2 separate regions of the Homo sapiens genome follow, and region 2 is linked to region 1. Evidence: promoter capture Hi-C in 16 types of primary human blood cells and fetal thymus (Javierre and others, 2016). All regions are on one chromosome and are shown on one strand. The core of a region is centred on a gene start or on the middle of the fragment in contact, and the rest is flanking DNA. Distances in the headings are between cores, read along the strand shown. Region 1 holds the start of TBC1D12 (TBC1 domain family member 12). Region 2 holds the start of PLCE1-AS1 (PLCE1 antisense RNA 1).

The links. Contacts are between HindIII fragments. The CHiCAGO score rates a contact against its expected background, and 5 or more counts as called.
Region 2: the fragment with the promoter of PLCE1-AS1 here is called in contact with the fragment with the promoter of TBC1D12 in region 1 in 3 of 17 cell types (total B cells, naive B cells and neutrophils); the score reaches 5.9 in total B cells.

Annotation. Positions count from the first base shown.
Region 1 is chr10:94,400,458-94,404,595 of GRCh38, forward strand. It overlaps TBC1D12 (TBC1 domain family member 12), which reads left to right and starts at 2,084. Exons shown (of 13, transcript NM_015188.2): 1 at 2,084-3,127. The coding sequence starts at 2,157. RefSeq lists enhancers at 1,832-1,991, 3,292-3,591 and silencers at 2,322-2,811, 2,882-3,211. The HindIII fragment of the contact is 10,631 bases long and covers 1-4,138 here.
Region 2 is chr10:94,285,054-94,289,191 of GRCh38, forward strand. PLCE1-AS1 (PLCE1 antisense RNA 1) reads right to left here and starts at 2,017. Exons shown (of 4, transcript NR_033969.1): 1 at 1,788-2,017. The region is part of intron 22 of PLCE1 (phospholipase C epsilon 1); the gene reads left to right. The HindIII fragment of the contact is 4,167 bases long and covers 1-3,797 here.

The sequences.
Region 1 (4,138 bases), core at 834-3,333:
TTTATGCTTTTATTTTTAGTAGAGATGGGATTTCACTATATTGGCCAGGCTGGTCTTGAACTCCTGACCTCAAGTGATCTGCCTGCCTCTGGCTCCCAAAGTGCTGGGATTACAGATGTGAGCCACCACGCCTGGCCTCTTGATGTTTTTTTAAATTGAGTGTTAGGTACATGCATGCCCATTTTATTGACATTTTATTATATAAAGGTTATATTCCCTCTTATATCTGTATGTATAGGTATTTTTATATGAAATAAATTTTAAATGCTTGACAATAATGTCTCCTCTACGACTTCTATTTTCTGTTCTTGCATTCACTAACATACTTTTAGAATGAATGAGTGGTCTATATTCTATATACTTTTATAGAATGAGTGGTCTATATTTTCTGCTTCGTTTTATCCACAACTGATGCCTCTTCAATTTCTTGCAATACAACTTTTTTGTCCTGAAATAATGAAACATTTGGGTCTGTGCCCGACCCTTATCATTATTCTTTCTTCCTAGGTAATGTTACTCATGATTCATCCACCTACTTGCATTATACAGATGACGCCTAATCTGTGTCTCTGAACCTAAACCCTAACCCAAGTTTTATTATTTATTTATTTGAAACAGTTTCCCTCTTGTTGCCCAGGCTGGAGTGCAGTGGTACGATCTGGGCTCATTGCAACTTCAGCCTCTCGGGTTCAAGCGATTCTCCTGCCTCAGCCTCCCAAGTAGCTGGGATTACAGGTGCCCACCACCATGCCCAGCTAATTTTTCGTATTTTTAGTAGGGACTGGGTTTCACCATGTTGGCCAGGCTGGTCTCGAACTCCTGACCTCAGGTGATCCACCTGCCTCGGCCTCCCAACGTGTTGGGATTATAGGCGTGAGCCACTGCGCCCAGCCAACTCAAGTTTTAGAACTCTATATGCTGGATATTTTCAGTCGTTTACTTTACCAGATGTATTTCCCCTATTAATCGTTTTTTTCCTATCCACTTTTCTATTTCTTCAAACCATATCAGTTTCAGTCTCATATCTTTGTAGTAATCATTGGTTACTCTCTCTTCTGTCACTTCTGATCAGTTATCAAGTCTTTCGTCTTTTACTTTAAATATACTTCATTTCCACTCAATGGTCAATCATCCCATTTTAATCCACTATCGCAGAGTGCTGGAATTATTTCAATAGCTCCTCTCTGCCTGACCACTTCCTCTCCCTCCTTAGGTGATAATCTTTTTTTCTTGTTTGAGACGGAGTCTCGCTCTGTCGCCCAGGCTGGAGTGCAGTGGCGCGATCTCGGTTCACTGCAAGCTCCGCCTCCCGGGTTCACGCCATTCTCCTGCCTCAGCCTCCCGAGTAGCTGGGACTACAAGCGCCCGCCACCATGCCCAGCTAATTTTTTTGTATTTTTAGTAGAGACAGGGTTTCACCGTGTTAGCCAGGATGGTCTCCATCTCCTGACCTTGTGATCCACCCGCCTCGGCCTCCCAAAGTGCTGGGATTACAGGCGTGAGCCACCGCGCCCGGCCGGTGATAATCTTTTAAACAGAGGACTGTGATGAAACATGGTGCTAGGTGAGCAAGATAACTTAGGATATCTTTCTTTTGTGTTAGATGAAGTGAAGAAGGGAGGGTGTTGACCCTCCTGGATGAAGTGATGAAGCCCTGAACTGTGGCAATGATGCCGGAGAAGGATGTAAAAATCGTAAAGTCGACTGGTGACCAATTAGAGCTGGAAGGACTTACCCACGCTAACACCTCCCAAATATGGGAGTATTTTACTACCATAAATGAAATACATCAAGTGAATTTTTGCTAAGCGAGCAATACCCGCGCTTCGGTAAGAACTGTCACGCTTAGAGCGGGCCAACCAGCTTCCACCATCCAGATGGCGGATCCTAGATTGGCAGCCTGCGTCTCTCTAGCTACCGTCTCTATGGTTCGGGGAATCTCCAGGTCGGGGCTTGACCGGTCCGACTTTTGCGCGTGCGCGAGTCCTGGCGCGTGCCCGCCCTCAAGCAACTGTCCGACCCAGCGGGTGGGAGGGGTGGGTCTGGGAACGTTGCGGCGGCTGTCGCCGCGGCCCCAGCACCCAGAGCTGTTCTCTGGCCAAGCCTGCGCCTGTAGTCCTTCTTTGCCTCCTGGGGCGGCCGCCACCCACCCCCAGATGGTGGGTCCGGAGGATGCCGGAGCCTGCTCGGGAAGAAACCCCAAGTTGCTCCCGGTGCCTGCGCCGGACCCCGTGGGCCAGGACAGGAAGGTAATCCGGGCCACGGGCGGCTTTGGCGGAGGCGTCGGCGCTGTGGAGCCGCCGGAGGAGGCTGACGAGGAGGAGGAGGCTGACGAGGAGGAGGAGACGCCGCCTCGGCAGCTCCTTCAGCGTTACCTCGCGGCGGCCGGGGAGCAGCTGGAGCCGGGGCTCTGCTACTGTCCGCTCCCCGCTGGCCAGGCCGGCGCCCCGCCGCCCTCGGCAGCCCCACGATCGGACGCCTGCCTGCTGGGCTCGGGCTCCAAACACCGCGGCGCGGAGGTGGCTGATGGCCGCGCGCCGCGGCACGAAGGCATGACCAACGGCGACTCGGGTTTTCTGCCGGGCCGGGACTGTCGCGATCTGGAAGAGGCTCGCGGGCTGGCGCGCGCCGGCGGCCGGGAGTCGCGCCGCCGCCGCCCCTACGGCCGCCTTCGCCTGGAGGGGCCTGGCGACGAGGACGCGGACGGCGCGGGAAGCCCGTCCGATTGGGCCTCTCCGCTTGAGGACCCGCTGCGGAGCTGCTGCCTGGTGGCCGCGGACGCCCAGGAGCCCGAGGGCGCGGGCAGCGACTCGGGGGACAGCCCCGCCAGCAGCTGCAGCAGTAGCGAGGACTCAGAGCAGCGGGGAGTCGGCGCCGGGGGTCCCGAGGAGGGCGCGCCCCCTGCCACCTCGGCCGAGAGGACTAATGGGGGTGCGGAGCCGCGCCTGGGCTTTTCTGACATTCACTTCAACTCTCGCAACACGTTCCAGGTGAGCCGCGGTCAGAGCGCCCGCGATCACCTGCCCCCGGCGGGGCCGCCGGTGCCCTTGCCCGCCGCGGAGCAGGGTCCTGCGGGGGCTTCGGCCCGGGCTCGACGGAGTGGCGGCTTCGCGGACTTCTTCACCAGGTACAGCGCAGGCTGCATGGGACTCGGGGCGGGTCCGGGGCCGGGGCCGGAGCCGGGGTCTTGGTGGGAGTCGGAGCCGGAGCCGGAGCCGGAGCGGAGAGCTTGGTCGGCCGCTTCCGTGCCAGCCCCACACGCGTCAGGACTTAGCTTTGATTTGTCACTGGAGGAAGAGGAACTGGGTCGGCTTTGTGTTTCTATAGGAGAAGTTGTGAGCTCTGTGGACAGCGAGTCTTTCTGTTGCCTTGTCCGCGGGAGGCTGTACCTGCCATTCATACCTGGCTTCTGAGCAGTCAGGTTGGGCCAGCTGTCTAGTGCCACATATGCAGTTGCCTTTTCTGGAAAAGCAGATAACCATCTCCGTCTCCAATTTTTAAAAATTTTACTACAAACATTTAGGTTGTTGGGGGGGTGGTGAGGGGAGGCGGTATGTGTGTACGGGTGTGGTTGTGAAAGAGAGAAGGAAGTCATTTTGTAGAGCTGTTTATTTGCTGTGCTTGCATAGCGTCTAAATCCATTCAAGTGGTTTGGGAATTCTTGAAATTAGAAGTGGTTGTGCTTCATAGTGTTTAATCGTTTGTTTCAGTGGTCTTTATTAAAATGCAGTTTGGTGTTTAGAATTTTATCCCAACTTTTTAAGCCAAAGTAGGGCTTTTACTAAGGAAAGCCTTTTTTCTAATCTCCCAGATAAGCCTCTCCTTTTTTTCCCCAATAACTTTAGTTTTTTTAAAAAATGGTATTGTATTTGTGATTTGACAGGATATTCTTGAAATTAAATTATGGGCCGGGCGCGGTGGCTCACGCCTGTAATTCCAGCACTTTGGGAGGCTGAGGCGGGCGGACTATTTGAGGTCAGGGGTTCGAGACCAGCCTGGCCAATGTGGTGAAACCCGGTTTCTACTAAAAATACAAAAATTAGCCAGGCGTGGTGGCAGGTGCTTGTAATCCCAGCTACTCGGGATGCTGAGGCAGGAGAATCACTTGAACCTGGGAGGTAGAGGTTGCAGTGAACCT
Region 2 (4,138 bases), core at 767-3,266, 120 kb before region 1:
CAAAATAACTAAATTGTGTTGCTGAAATCATTGTTATAATACCTCCTAAATATCTTTATTATTATAATTTGCCTTGATGCTCATGAAGAAAAATACCATAAAGTATTCATTTTTCAGGTCACACAATGTCTTTTTATAATAGTTAATAATTATAAAAGTTATAATACTCATAATTTCTAATTGCTAAATGTATTAAATACTTAAGTACTAGGATTTGTGCTATTTTACGTACATCTCCTTTACCGTTCATAATGATTCTACAAGGTAGGCGGTATTATCTCCATTTTAAAATAAAGTCTGAGAGGGATGAAGTAATTTGCCCCAAGTTTCAGAGTATATCAGTCAAGATTCTTTTGTTTGAAAGTGGCAGAAATTGACCTAAGTAAAGGGAACTTTATTGACTCATGTGCTTAAAAATGAAGACACACAGGTTTCAGGTATAGCTTAACCAAGGTACATGCTTTCTCTTTCCTCATTTCTCATTCCGCCTCCATCATGTTGGCTTTCTCCCCTTTATTCCCTTCTGGTTGCGAGACGGCTACAGCAGGCCAGCACTACATGCTTCCAGTTTCAGCTTCAGTGTAAGAGTCTCTTCCAGAACTTCCCGCAGAAGTGTCATTGTTTCTCATTGGGTCCTTTACCAATCACTGTGGCCAGGAGATGCAGTGCTCTGATGGTCTGGATCCCATGTCACATTCTCCACTCTGAGCTGGGTAGCAAGGCCCCACCCAAACCACAAGGACCAAGGATGGCGTTGAAGTGGAAGGAGAGATTTCCCCCAATTGACCGTTTTTAGAAGTACAGTGGACAGGCTGATGAACCACTTTCCAAAAACAGTGTCCTTTTCAATTAATGAATGGTAGACCTATGGCTCTGAAGCCTGTCTGTCTCCAAAGTCCTGCCCTTACCCGTTATACTGCCTGGCCTCTCTTGTTTCGGGCTGTTTTCAATGAGGTACTCAATTATGTGTCCCACAAATGGGGCACCAGGGGGTAGAAGACAAACAAGAAAGTCCCTAAGTACATGGAACTCAGAAAAATTCATCTCCTCATACTAAGAAAAAGGATTCTCTTGAATATAATTTCTGAGAACAGGAAAGTGGCTGAGATAGGAGGATCAGTCTAAATGTTAGTAAACAGGATTTATAGACTTGGCCTGGAGAGAGGCACTAAAATGCCCTCATCTTTTCAAGATGGGCTGAACTCAGGTCCCTCCCAGAGCATATCTTAAGCACCTGGTCTCACACAGTGCCTGACAAATGGGCCAGAGGCATTGGGCTATTTAAAAATTAGGCAAACTGGGTGTAGTGGTGCGTGCCTGTAATCCCAGCTACCAGGGAGGCTGAGCAGGAGAAATGCTTGAGTCTAGGAGTTCAAGCCCAGCCTGGGCAAGATATATAGCAAGACCTCATCTCTAAAAAATAATAATTAAATTTTTAAAATCACAGTTAGGTAATAGTGAGCTTTTCACACATCAGAGTAAAAAAAATCATATTATTTAATGATATGATAAAAATCATATATTTCATGATATTAAAATCATTTTAATTGTAAGTTTTCTCCTATAAGCTGTTTTTAAACTTTTGGCAGCTGCTACTGCTTGTCTGCTAGCAAATCCTGTTGAGGAGGATATGAATCAATAAGTAGCCAGCAAAGATTTCAGAGAAATGCAGGAACCTGGCCATTTAAGTTTAATTTCACAGACCATGACCTCATGGCATATAAGTACAATATGACCATTATTTGCAACTGGCAAAACTCTTTTTCTGATGGAGTAAAACCCTTTACCTGTCAAAGAGCCTGGAGGCTGGCATGTCCTTCATTGCAGGAACAAGGATGAGCGCCACTCTGTCCAAGAATCACACCCACTGCAGCTCTTATTCTTTATAAATGCAGCGGATGCCACACTCGGACCATTCCACTGGCTTTGTCTTTTCTTCTCAAGCACTCAGTAAATAAGGAGCACAAATTCCCAAAGATATTTGAAGTCTGTGTGAAAGATAAAGTCTCTGTACCAGTAGAGAATCGTGGAAGATCAGGAGGTCATGTGATAGAGCTTCTAAGCATGTGGTTGTTCGGCTTATTTTAAAAATTCCAAGTATGTTGTTTTTTAAAAGTGTTCACATAGCATACATTTCTTCATAGGTATAGTGTATTTTCTCTTTAGAAAAATGAAATTTCTTACATTTTTTCCCTGATTTTATTTCCTGTCTCAAAATAGCTAAATTGGATTGCCAGAATGATTGTTATAATACCTTCTAAATATTTCTTTTTACAATCATTTGTTTGATGCACATGAGGAAAATACTATAAACTGTTCATTTTGCTATGCCGTTTATTTTAATTTTGCTACATTATCAATTTCAGTGTATGTCACCTTTCATCATCCCAAGTCCCTTCTTACAAGCCATATGCAAAAAAAAAAAAAAAACCCTTCATTGCAATGAGGCACTCAACAATCATGTGGTATGAGGCCCACAGAAAGGAAGGAACTTCCCCACCATCAGAAGCTAGGTCAGTGGCAGGGCAAGAGCCAGAATTCCTGTCAGCTCCCAGGGGTGGGCTCTTTGCACCACACTATGGAAGTAGTTGAATTTTTTCGACCTGCTTTCTCTTAGGGTTTATTTCTCGGTTGCATTTAGTACTTCTATTGTCCTGGGTTTTTTTCTCCTTCTAATAGAAAAAAAAAAGGATATGGTATTTTTATTTTATGACCCCATCAACCTAGTTTCCAATATCTTCCCACAAGCTCCCCTGCATCCCCCACTCTCCTCAGGCACCTACATACACTGCCGTCTTTCTAGTGCCAGGCCATTGCTCAGAGTGTTCTCAACCTTGCCTGGCCTTCCTTCTCCCCTTGGCCCCATTCCAAATTCCAAGGACGGGGTCCTTGGAAAGTATCTGAGACTCTTCAACTCATTGTGACATCTCCTTTCTGGAGCTCCTTCATTTATAGGCATATGTTTGGGTACCTCCTAGATACCCAGTTGTTCCACAGTTAGGAGTGCAACCTTGTTCTTTTATTTTGAATTTTTTTATTTTGACAGCTTTAGTGGTACAAGTAGTTTTTGGTTACATGGATGAATTGTATAGTGATGAAGTCTGGGATTTTAGCGCACCTGTCACCCAAGTCGTGTAAGTCATACCCACCAGGTAGTTTTTCATCCCTCACCTCCCTCCCACTCTCATTCTGAGTCTCCAATGTCCATTACGCTGCTCTGTATGCCTTGACATACCCATAGCTTAAAAGATTACAACCCTGTAAGACAAAAATTATTCAGTGGTGACAAGATCATCAGATAAGATCGTGGGTCAGAGACCTGGGCTCTTGGCTACCATGCTTTGTGATTTGGCCAAGGCAAATCTCTCTGAGCCTTTCTCACTCAAAAGTGGAGTTGACTAGAATCCTTGTTTACTACACTTGCTGAAATCTCCAGAATCACCCAGGCCACTTGATTAACATACCCAGTCTCAGGCCTCTCTACCAGGGATTTACATTTGGAAGGCACTGGGAGGTCCTGGTCCCTGGGTTTCTAAGGCAGGCAATTCAGGAGCAGGTAGAGCCAGATGATCTGGAAGTCTGATTCTGAGGGGGATTTTGCCTCATTCTCCTTTGGATCCACCACACAGTCCACAGAGCAGGTGCCCAGGGATTCCATGGTGAGGCTCGTCCGGAAGATTCTGTGACTTCCAGGGCTCATTTTTATTCCTACACTGAAGGAGCCACATGGGGAGAGCCTTGCAAGTGTCAGTCCATTCCCTGGACACACACTGTCATTTTCTCAGCACTGAGAGACAAGCTTTGTTCATCAAACAGTGGTTTGCTAACAAGCCATTTGAATGACAAAAGTAGAACCCTGCTGCCTTGGACAGCTTTGGGCTAGCTGGGTGTAGGTCCCTGGCACTGAGAGTTGCCTCCCCCACAGAGAGCCTTGGCCATCCCCCATGGCTGTTCTGGGTTACTCAGACCCACAGTAGTGCTGCAGGTTGGAACACCTTGGAGGGCAAAGGGATGCATTTCAAGAAATGAGAGGGCTTGGAACAGAACTCTCGGGAGAATGTCAACCAACACACCACTGAGAGGTAGCCCTGTTCACTGAAACTTAATTACCCTCGGTGCCTCCCAATATCTTGCAAAA